Linked DNA regions of Homo sapiens: all the other regions are linked to region 3. The links are contacts of gene promoters, found by promoter capture Hi-C in human tissues and cell types (Jung and others, 2019). All regions are on one chromosome and are shown on one strand. The core of a region is centred on a gene start or on the middle of the fragment in contact, and the rest is flanking DNA. Distances in the headings are between cores, read along the strand shown. Region 1 overlaps AFG3L2 (AFG3 like matrix AAA peptidase subunit 2). Region 2 overlaps LDLRAD4 (low density lipoprotein receptor class A domain containing 4). Region 3 holds the start of SEH1L (SEH1 like nucleoporin). Region 4 overlaps LDLRAD4 (low density lipoprotein receptor class A domain containing 4).

What was found. The method cuts DNA at HindIII sites, captures the fragments that hold promoters and counts their contacts. A contact is called where the count stands out against the background at its distance.
Region 1: a contact is called between a fragment that was not itself captured here and the fragment with the promoter of SEH1L in region 3, in 1 of the 25 tissues and cell types used here (lymphoblastoid cells).
Region 2: a contact is called between a fragment that was not itself captured here and the fragment with the promoter of SEH1L in region 3, in 1 of the 25 tissues and cell types used here (dorsolateral prefrontal cortex).
Region 4: a contact is called between a fragment that was not itself captured here and the fragment with the promoter of SEH1L in region 3, in 1 of the 25 tissues and cell types used here (lymphoblastoid cells).

The regions. Positions count from the first base shown.
Region 1 is chr18:12,338,964-12,341,663 of GRCh38, forward strand. It overlaps AFG3L2 (AFG3 like matrix AAA peptidase subunit 2), which reads right to left. Exons shown (of 17, transcript NM_006796.3): 15 at 1,238-1,438. All of the region lies in intron 1 of LOC107985154 (a long non-coding RNA gene), which reads left to right. Among named protein-coding and RNA genes, the nearest start is that of TUBB6, 32 kb to the left of the region's middle. The HindIII fragment of the contact is 6,920 bases long and covers 1-2,700 here.
Region 2 is chr18:13,506,213-13,508,912 of GRCh38, forward strand. All of the region lies in intron 4 of LDLRAD4 (low density lipoprotein receptor class A domain containing 4), which reads left to right. Among named protein-coding and RNA genes, the nearest start is that of LDLRAD4-AS3, 37 kb to the left of the region's middle. The HindIII fragment of the contact is 7,095 bases long and covers 1-2,700 here.
Region 3 is chr18:12,946,715-12,949,414 of GRCh38, forward strand. It overlaps SEH1L (SEH1 like nucleoporin), which reads left to right and starts at 1,297. Exons shown (of 9, transcript NM_001013437.2): 1 at 1,297-1,518. The coding sequence starts at 1,408. RefSeq lists silencers at 995-1,444, 1,485-1,834, 1,845-1,944 and an enhancer at 1,876-2,477. The HindIII fragment of the contact is 16,054 bases long and covers 1-2,700 here.
Region 4 is chr18:13,572,914-13,575,613 of GRCh38, forward strand. All of the region lies in intron 4 of LDLRAD4 (low density lipoprotein receptor class A domain containing 4), which reads left to right. Among named protein-coding and RNA genes, the nearest start is that of MIR4526, 37 kb to the right of the region's middle. The HindIII fragment of the contact is 8,876 bases long and covers 1-2,700 here.

The DNA of each region.
Region 1 (2,700 bases), core at 188-2,687, 610 kb before region 3:
GTTTCTCGGGGCCGGGCACGGTGGCTCACGCCTGTAATCCCAGCACTTTGGCAGGCCAAGGCGGGCGGATCACCAGGTCAGGAGACAAGACCATCCTGGCTAACACAGTGAAATGCCTGCCTCTACTAAAGATACAAAAAATTAGCCAGGAGTGGTGGCGGGCACTACTTGGGAGGCTGAGGCAGGAGAATGGCGTGAACCTGGCAGGCGGAGCTTGCAGTGTGCCCAGATGGCGCCACTGCACTCCAGCCTGGGCGACCGAGACTCTGTCTCAAAAAAAAAAAAAAAAAAAAAAAAAAGGTTTCTCAGCCAAGCACAGCGGCTCATGCCTGTAATCCCAGTGCTTTGAGAGGCCGAGGCGGGCGGATCACCTGAGGTCAGGAGTTCAAGACCAGCCTGACCAACATGGAGAAACCCCGTCTCTACTAAAAATACAAAACTAGCCAGGCGTGGTGGCACATGAATGTAATCCCAGCTACTCAAGAGGCTGAGGCAGGAGAATTGCTTGAACCCAGGAGGCAGAGGTTGTGGTGAGCCGAGATCGCACCATTGCACTCCAGCCTGGGCAACAAGAGCAAAACTCCAGATCAAAAAAAAAAAAAAACAAAAAAGCTGGGCGCAGTGGCTCACGCCTGTAATCCCAGCACTTTGGGAGGCTGGAGGATCACAAGGTCAGGAGATAAGACCATCCTGGCTAACACGGTGAAACCCTGTCTCTACTAAAAATACAAAAAAATCAGCCAGGCGTGGTGGTGGGCGCCTGTAACCCCAGCTCCTCAGGAGACTGAGGCAGAAGAATGGTGTGAACCTGGGAGGCAGAGCTTGCAGTGAGCCGAGATTGCACCACTGCACTCCAGCCTGGGCAAGAGTGCGAGGCTCAGTCTCAAAAAAAAAAAAAAAAAAAAAATTAGCCACATGTGGTGGCGCATGCCTGTAATCCCAGCTACTCAGGAGGCTGAGGCAGGACAATCACTTGAACCCAGGAGGCAGAGGTTGCAGTGAGCCAAGATAGAGCCACTGCACTCCAGCCTGGGCAACAGAGGGAGACTGTGTCTCAAAAAAATAAAGTTTCTCTTCATAAGTTTTAATTGCTTTACTTCTTTTAAGAGATAATCCTTGCCTAAAAAGCCTAAAACAGTGAAGCACAACTATATTGTTTCAGAGCCATTCATAGAATGTCAATTTCTCGTGCAAATATGAATACATGAGGAGGAAATGCACTCTTTCATATACTCACTTGGGCATATGCACTCTGAGTTACTTTTCTCAAGTCATCTTGAGCACCAGTTGTAATTCTTCCAAAGAAGATTTCTTCAGAGACTCGACCACCTAAAGTCATACACATCCTATCCAAGAGCTGCTCTTTGGTATAGAGGTATTGTTCTTTTGGTAAATACTGAGCATAACCTAGTCCTTTGCCACGTGGGATGATGGATACCTGGTAAGTAGAAAACAGTGTTGAAGATCCTACTACAGATGAAGACTTGATCAAAACATCTGTGTATAAACAGATAAACTCATTGACTAAAAATAAGCACAACAGCCGCACAGTTCATCAGCCTTAGTGGGATGTGATCTAGCAGTGACTGCTCAGGAGGAGTATTTTCTCTCAGGATAAGTTCACCTTAGAGTGTTTTTTTTCTTGAGATTGAGATTGAGTCCTGCTCTGTCACCCAGGCTGGAGTGCAGTGGCACGATCTCAACTCACTGCAACCTCCACCTCCCGGGTTCAAGTGATTCTCCTGCCTCAGCCTCCTGAGTAGCTCGGATTATAAGCGCCCACCACCAGGCCTGGCTAATTTTTTATTTTTAGTAAAGAAGGGGTTTCACCATGTTGGTCAGGCTGGTCTCGAACGCCTGAGCTCGTGATCCTCCTGCCTCAGCCTCCCAAACTGCTGGGATTACAGGCGTGAGCTACCACGTCCAGCTTCACCTTAGAATTCTAAATGGCTTTTCTTTTTTTTTTTTTTTTTAAGTAAAAACAGGGTCTCACTTTGCTGCTCGGGATGGTCTTAAACTCCTGACTACAAGCAATTCCCCCACCTTGGCCTCCCAAAGTGCTAGGATTACAGGCATGCGCCACCACACCCAGCAAATTTCTTGTCTTTTTGTAAAACTCAATTGAAAGTATTCCATCTTGACATTCTGACAGTTCTGATGTTGTGCAAGCATGCAGGCTTCATTCAACTCTGCTGTCGGACGTGGCCACACCCTCCTTTGAAGGAAGAGGGGTACAGCAGGCCAAGATGCTCGGCAGCCTTTCCTTTCCAGTCCTCTTTTGCAATTAAGTAAATTCCTTTAATTTTTAAAAAATTCAGTTTATTGAGAGATGACATATATGGTAAAATGCACCCATCTGAAGTGTAGAGTTCAATGAGTTTTGACAAACATAACATCAAGCCACAATGAAGATACAGAATATTCTCATCATGCCCAGAAAGTTCCCTTGTACCCACTGGTAGGGAGTCTTTCCCTCCACACCCAACCCCAGGCAACCACAGACATGCCTTCTGTCCCTATGGATTAGTTTAGCTTCTAGAATTGCAAATAAATGAAATTGTATGGCACATACTTCATTGTTTGGCCTCTTTCCCTGTTTTTGAGATCCATAGATACTGCTGTATGTATTAATAATCATTCATTTTTACTGCTGTGTGGCACTCCACTGCTACAAACATACCAAATATCCATTTCATTCTT
Region 2 (2,700 bases), core at 132-2,631, 560 kb after region 3:
TTCCTCTTTTTTTTTTTTATTATTATACTTTAAGTTCTAGGGTACATGTGCATAACGTGCAGTTTTGTTACATATGTGTACATGTGCCATGTTGGTGTGCCGCACCCATTAACTCGTCATTTACATTAGGTATATCTCCTAATGCCATCCCTCCCCCTCCCCCCACCCCAGCTGTTTCTTTTATAACTCCGTTTACGGTAGGCTTGAATTTCACTTCCAGCAGGACTTTTTATTTCTTTGCTGCACTTTTAACTTTGTTGGTGGTTTTCCTCTTTTGATGACCCGTTTTTATAAACATCACATACATTTACCCCTGGGTGACAGGGACCAACACAGCTACATACTTTGCATTCTGTACATGAAAAACAGCAGGTTATCCAGAAGCTCTAGCTAAGATCACTGATGAAGGTGGCTGCACTAAACAACAGATTTTCACTGTAGATGGAATAGCCCTCTATTGGAAGAAGATGCCATGTAGGATTTTCATAGCTGGAGAGGTCAATGCCTGGCCTCACAGCTTCAAAGGACAGGCTAAATTTCTCATTAGGGGCTAATGCAGCTGGTGACTTTAAATTGGCATGGTAACCAGTTGCCAACAGACTTTGAGAGAAGTGACCTGCTTGGTCACTGACCATGGCACTCATCTGTCATTTGCATGGTGATCTGCATGGCAGAAGTGCTAGCTGTGAAGTCTGCAGTTTCGGCGCTGACAGTGACTCTATACAGGAGTACCTCGCTTTACTGTGCTTCACAGATACCGTGTTTTTTACAAGTTGAAAGTGTATGGCAACCTCACATGGAGCAAGTCTCTCAGTGCCATCTTCTCAGTAGCATGGGTGCATTTCATGTATCTGTGCCACATTTTGGCAATTCTTGTGATATTTTCAACTTCTTATTATATGTTATGGTGATCTGTGACAGTGATCTTTTTTAAAATTCTTTTTAATTTTAATTTTTAAAATGTTTATTTCAATAGGTTTTTTGGGGAACAGGTGGTTTTGGTTACATGGATAAGTTCTTTAGTGGTGATTTCTGAAATTTGGGTGCACCCATCACCCGAGCAGTGTATGCTGTACCCGATATTTAGTCTTTTATCTCTTACCCTCCTCCCAACTTCCCCGCGAAGTCCCCATAGTCCATTATATCATTCTTATGCCTTTGCATCTTCATAGCTTAGCTCCCACTTATAAGTGAGAACATATGATACTTAGTTTTTCATTCCTGAGATACTCCACTTGGAACAATAGCCTCCATCCAAGTTGCTGCAAAAGACATTATTTCATTCCTTTGTATGATTGAGTAGTATTCCATGGTGTGTATATCTACCACATTTTCTTTATCCCCTCATTGGTCAGTGAGCACTTAGGTTGGCTCCATATCTTTGCAATTGTGAATTGTGCTGCTATAAACATGCATGCATATGTGATACAGTGATCTTTGATGTTACTATTGTAGTTGTTTTGGGGCACCACAAACCATACCCATATAAGACAGTGAACTTAGTGTTGTGTGTGTTCTGACTGCTCCACTAGCTGTTCCGTCACTTCTCTTCCTTTCCTTGGGCCCCTCTAATTCTCCAAGACACAAGAATATTGAAATTAGGACAAATAATAACCCTACCGTGGCCTCTATGTGTTCAAGTGGAAGGAAGAGTTGCACATCTCTCACTTTAAGTCAAAAGTTCAAGATGATTAAACTTAGTGAGGAAGGCAGGTTGAAAGCCTGGTAGTCTGAAAGCTAGGCCTCTCATGCCAAACAGTTAGCCAAGTTATGAATGCAAAGGAAAAGTTCTTGAAGGAAATTAAAAGTGCTACTCCAGTGAACACACAAATGATAAGAAAGCAAAACAGCCTCATTGTTGACATGAAGAAAGTTTAAGTGGTCTGGATAGAAGGTCAAACCAGCCACAACATTCCCTTAAGACAAAGCCTAATCCAGAGCAAGATCCTAACTCACTTCAATTCTATGAAGGCTGAGAGAGGTGAGGAAGCTGCAGGAGAAAAGTTGGAAGCTAGCAGAGGTAGGTTCATGAGGTTCAATGAAAGAAAACATCTACATACCATCAAAGTGCAGGGTAAAGCAGCAAGTGCTGGGGTAGAAGCTGCAGCAGGTTATCCAGAAGCTCTAGCTAAGATCACTGATGAAGGTGGCTGCACTAAATAACAGATTTTCAGTGTAGGTGGAATAACCCTCTATTGGAAGGAGATGCCATGTAGGGTTTTCATAGCTGGAGAGGTCAATGCCTGGCCTCAAAGCTTCAAAGGACAGGCTAAATTTCTCACTAGGGGCTAATGCAGCTGGAGACTTTAAATTGCAGCCAATGCTCATTTCCCATTCCAAAAATCCTAGGGTCCTAAAGAATCATGCTAAATCTATGCTGCCTGTGCTCTAGAAATAGAACAACAAAACTGGATGACAGCAGATCTAAAATAGATCCATAGATGTATTTTTAGCCCACTGTTGAGACCTACTGCTCAGGAAAAAAAAAGATTCCTTTCAAAGTATTACTGCTCATTAATAATGCACCTGGTCACCAAGAGCTCTGATAGAGACCTACAGAGAGGTTAATGTTATTTTCATGCCTGCTAACACAACATCCACTCTGTAGCCCATGGATTGAGGAGCAATTTTTACTTTTAAGTCTTATTCTTTAAGAAATAAATTTCCTAAGGGTATAGCTGCTATAAATAGTGATCCTTC
Region 3 (2,700 bases), core at 47-2,546:
AGGTGGGGCCCACCTCTTAAAGTAGCAATAAAATCTTATTTATGGTTGAAAAAGGTCAGGTCATTGCGCCACTTCTCTTTGCAGGTTTCTGTGCAATCCATCAGGGGACAGCTGGGACTAATCATTTAAAAAACTTTCCAGCCTGCTAATTTTACCATACCTCACATTTTTGTCATTCCTGGCCAAAATCCAAAGGGCAAGTCCCTTCTGCAGCCTCATTTTTTTTTTTTCTGTACTTTCGCTCCCCTGACGCAAGCTTCCACTGTCTCCCATCCTAACTTTACCACTACGCCCTCTAGAATGCCTTTTCCTGATAAGCAAAACCCCCCGAGTCGTTGGCTCCTCCACTTTCCGGTTTTGGCAGAATCCTTGATCTGAGCCAGGCCTCTTCCCAGGGGCTCTGGCCCTCTTCACTTCCTTTTCCCCGGAGGACTCTGGCTCCCGGGTAGCAAGCAGCCCACTTCCCCGGCCGCTTCCTTCCCCCGGGATGACACGTTTCTACAGGCGGACTCTTCTAATTCATACTATTTCCCTACCCCCGTGGTGGCTCCTAGCACCCCCAGGCCTGTTCTACCTGTAAAATCTTGACACATTTAAACTACTACTTCTGATCCTTTCCTCCCCGTCCAGCCTTCGCTCTTAGGCTGCCGAGCCTGGACTGCTTGTCATCCCCTCAGGCGTCTCCCCGGCCCTCCCTGCTCTTCAGCCGTCCCGACGGAGCGCGGCTCCTGACCAAACCCACGGTTCGTCTTCTCCACCTGCTCCGCGCGCCTCGCATGTGTCTGGGGGGAAACACATCCAAACGTCGACTTAAATGATTCAGGGCCGAGGACCGTGAGAGGCAGTCTTCACTTTTTCATCTTTCTTCATTTGCACAGTATACCAATAAGCTCTTACTACTTCTCAGCACAGGTAACTCGCCTTTTGCAGAGCACCCTCCGCCGCCGAACGGTCAGAGCCTGGAGGAACCCGCACCAGGATCGTAGGGCATGACGGGCCGGGGGCGGGACGAGGATTGACGAGCCGGGAACAGGGCGGGGCTTGAGGGGGCGGGAGGGTGGGGCGAGGCATGACGGCTCTGGTGGGAGGGTAGGCGGGGCTTGACGGGCCTGGGGGCGGGGCGGGGCTTGAGGGACCGGAAGGTGGGGCGAGTCATGACGGGCCGGGGCGTGGGCAGGGCTTGAGGGGCCAGGGGACTGTGTGGGGCCTGACGGGCCGGTGGGTGGGGCGGGGCTTGAAGGACCGGAGGGTGTGTGGGCGGGGCTTGATAGGCAGGGGCGGTGCGGGGGCGTGGGCAGCACAAGCCGTGCGCTCCCGGGCTGCGAGGTCTGGCTAGGCTACGGGCCACGCGCCGCCGCCGCTGCCGCCGCCACTGTCCTCTTCGGAGGCGCGGGCCCGACGGAAACCATGTTTGTGGCTCGCAGCATCGCGGCGGACCACAAGGATCTCATCCACGATGTCTCTTTCGACTTCCACGGGCGGCGGATGGCAACCTGCTCCAGCGATCAGAGCGTTAAGGTGCGCGCGGCGCTTGCGGGCGGGGCCGACCCCGGAAGGAAGGAAGGGGAGTGGGTGGGCGGCGCGGGGAACGGGGCTGTGTCTTGGTTCAGTGACGCCGCTGGAAGCTGTGGGGTGGCGGGCGAGCCCTGGCTGGACTGAGCGGAAGCCCTCCCCGCCCGCGTATTGTGGGGTCACGGCGGCCTCGCGGGCCGCCCTCCCGTGCGCCTGCGCAGCTGGTGCCACGTGCGCGCTCCCGCCCGCAGGGTACGCCGGGCCCTCTCCCAGGCCGCGCTGCCGGGGCTGCGGGCGGGAACCCAGGGGCATCCCACCGTCAGCCTCGGCGTCGTGGGTCTTGCCCGCGCTGTTCACCCGACGACCTGCAGTGGGACCTGGTGGGAGACTTTGCCTGGCTGGCGCTGCGTCGAGTTCTGTGCCCCGCCGGTGTTCTCTCACCAGGGCACATGGTTTTCTCCGTGGGTTCAGAGCAGAAGCTCACTTTGTTACGCCGAGGAAGAAAAATACAAACCATTTACATCCAATGATTTCCCTGCTTGCTGCCCAGGAATCGGAGGGTTTGTTTCTTGAAGTTCCCGTAAACGTCTGTAGACACTTCCGACAAGCAGAATTTCTTTTCTTTTTTTTTTTTTTTTTTTGAGACCGAGTCTCACTCTGTCACCCAGGCTGGAGTGCAATGGCACGATCTCGGCTCACTGCAACGTCCGCCTCCCGCTTTCAGGCGATTATCCTGCCCCAGCCTCCCAAGTAGCAGGGATTACAGGTGCACGCCACCACCCCCGGCTAATCTTTTTTTTTTTTTGTATTTTTTAGTAGAGACAGAGTTTCACCATGTGGGCCAGGCTGGTCTCGAACTCCTGACCTCGTGATCCACCCGCCTCGGCGCCTCGGCCTCCCAAAGTGCTGGGATTACAGGCGTGAGCCACCGCGCCCGGCCTACAAGCAGAATTTCTAATGTGGGGATGCTACATGAGATTTAGGAACCTCCCAGATGTGTTGCAGGATGAATGAAAGCTGGAGTGCGGATTATTTGGTTCTCGACAACTCCAGAGTAACTGGAAATCTGAAGGATAGTTTATCCTTTTTCACATTCGAGTTTGATACCAGTGATCTCTCAAAGATAAACTTTTTATAAATAGTGTTGCAATTTTTAAAAGATGTAGTTTCTTTTTTAAAACAAGTTTA
Region 4 (2,700 bases), core at 123-2,622, 630 kb after region 3:
GAGACTGCCACAGACGCCAGTGAGGCCAGGATGTGCTTGATGGCTCTGCATGCCTGCTCTGTGGGGCTGGAGGTGTGCCCTCCTGTGCTGTGTGGATGTTATTAGATGTTGGAAAGCTGCAGTGTTCATTTGGGAAGGAGTTACTGCTCTGAAAGGTTTGTTCTCCTTTATTTTATTTTATTTTTATTTTTATTTTATTTTATTTTTTTGAGACGGAGTCTCGCTCTGTTGCCCAGGCTGAAGTGCAGTGGCATGATCTTGGCTCACTGCAGCCTCCGCCTCCCGGGTTGAAGCGATTCTTTTGCCTCAGCCTCTTAAGTAGCTGGGATTACAGGTACCCACCACCACGCCCCACTAATTTTTGTATTTTTAGTAGAGATGAAGTTTTGCCTTGTAGGCCAGGGTGGTCTCGAACTCCTGGCCTCAGGTGTTCTGCCCACCTCGGCCTCCCAAAGTGCTGGGATTACAGGTACCCATCACCACGCCCCACTAATTTTTGTATTTTTAGTAGAGATGAAGTTTTGCCTTGTAGGCCAGGCTGGTCTCGAACTCCTGGCCTCAGGTGATCTGCCCACCTCGGCCTCCCAAAGTGCTGGGATTACAGGTGTGAGCCACTGGCTGCTCTCCTTTAAAGAGAAGGTTTGTTCTCCTTGATTCTCCTGTACAGTTTTTTCTTAAAATTTGTTTAGAAATCTAGGAGCATGCTGGGCTCACATTATAGGTGACAGGAATAGGCTGACAAAACACACACCTTGCATAAGCCAACAAGCATTGGACTAGAATTCATTTGCTGTCAGATTTGGGGGCAGTGACAGTCTTTTGGTAGAATTGTAATCAAAGGAACAAACTCAGAGAACAATCTGGGTAAAGAGACTGGTGTCAGGTTAAGTTCAGATCTGTAGACCCTTCTCAGGTGGTGAAGCCGAGACCACAGACACAGATCCTGGAGAGGGATTAGAAGCCAGACATTCCGTGGGTGACGCGCTCCTTCTCCTGTTCCCATCTCCGCATTTCCTGGTCAGGAACCTCATGAAAGACAGCTGCATTTTTTCCAGGCTGGTATCTCTCACCAGAGTGAGGCTTGTGGGCTTCATGCATAGCGATGGATACAGAAGCCTTGGCTGTTGGTGAAGACACTGAGGTGTATGGATATATTGACCACTGTGGGGAAGGCTCTAACTCTTGGTCGTTCCACTTGCTCACTGCTCTTCTTTGATGGTTGAGAAAGTGGTAGGATGACCAGATTTGCAAAAGCCCATCTCACTATTATCAAATTTAATAGTGGATGTTCTGCCGTCTGCTATTATTACCCATGGTTTGCTTTTGTGTGTGGGTATTAGAAAGCCTTTTAGGGAAAAAGCAGAATGTGGCTGGGCTACAGCTCCTGAGGAAGCCGGCCATGGCAGCACTCTTCCCATGCTGTCCCTGGGCCTAGGAGAGCAACCGCTCTCTGTTCACAGTGTGCCGTCCAGACCCCTATTTAGATCCCTGTCATGTGGTAGTTCATCCACCTGGACATCTTCCTCACCATGGCAGCAGCTCCTTGGGAGCAGGAACTATGTCCTGTTCGTCTTTGTACCCCTAGCACCTGCTATTTAAGAAGGACTCCAGAAGCCTCGATGTGCGGCAGGACCATGGCCGATGTGTCTCCCTGGCACCTCTGTCTCAGGGTTAACTTTCCTCGCTGCCTGAGAGCCCCCGGCTTTGACGCTCATGGAGCCCTGGCATTGAGTGTGAGCACTTCACACTCTACCTCTCTCAGTTGGCCCTCCGAAATGCCTCAATTTAGGAGTGGTGCCCCACTGTGGAGGGTATTTTCAGGACCATCTTACAAATTATTGTGAAGTGTTGGAAACAAAGAGCTTCCTGCTTCTTTTCAACCTGGTTCTACCATGTTCCAAGCTGTAGCCAAAAGGAAAATAAATCAGAGCTTGAAACTAGCCTTTCTGATGGGAATATCTATCTGGGACACCCCTCCCTTTTTGTCTCTTGCCCCCATACGTCTCCTCCTTACAGCACAGGCTGTTTGGGAAGGAGGACAGGATATGTCATCTAACTTTTTTTCCATCCCTAGCTGAGTCACTGATTAAAAACAAATGAACAAACAAAAACCTAAAAAACCTTCCAGAAATACAAAGGAAAAGGGTTTGTTTGTTTTTTATTTTAATTTTTATTTCTGTAGGTTTTTGGGGAACAGATGGTATTTAGTTACATGAGAAAGTTATTTAGTGGTGATTTGTGAGATTCTGGTGCACCCATCACCCGAGCAGCCTTCACTGTACCCAATATGTAGTCTTTTATCCCTCACTTACCTCCCACCCTTTCCCCTGAGTCCCCAAAGTCCATTGTGTTATTCTTATGCCTTTGCATCCTCATAGCTTAGCTCCCACTTGTGAGTGAGAACATATGATGTTTGGTTTTCCATTCCTGAGTTACTTCACTTAGAATAATAGTCTCCATCCAGGTTGCTGCAAATGCCATTAATTTGTTCTTTTTTATGGCTGAGTAGTATTCCATGGTGTATATATACCACAATTTCTTTATCCACTCATTGATTGATGGGCATTTGGGCTGGTTCCATATCTTTGCAGCTGTGAATTGTGCTGCTATAAACATGCGTGTGCAAGTATCTTTTTCGTATAATGACTTATTTTCCTCTGGGTAGATACCCAGTAGTGGGATTACTGGATCAAATGGTAG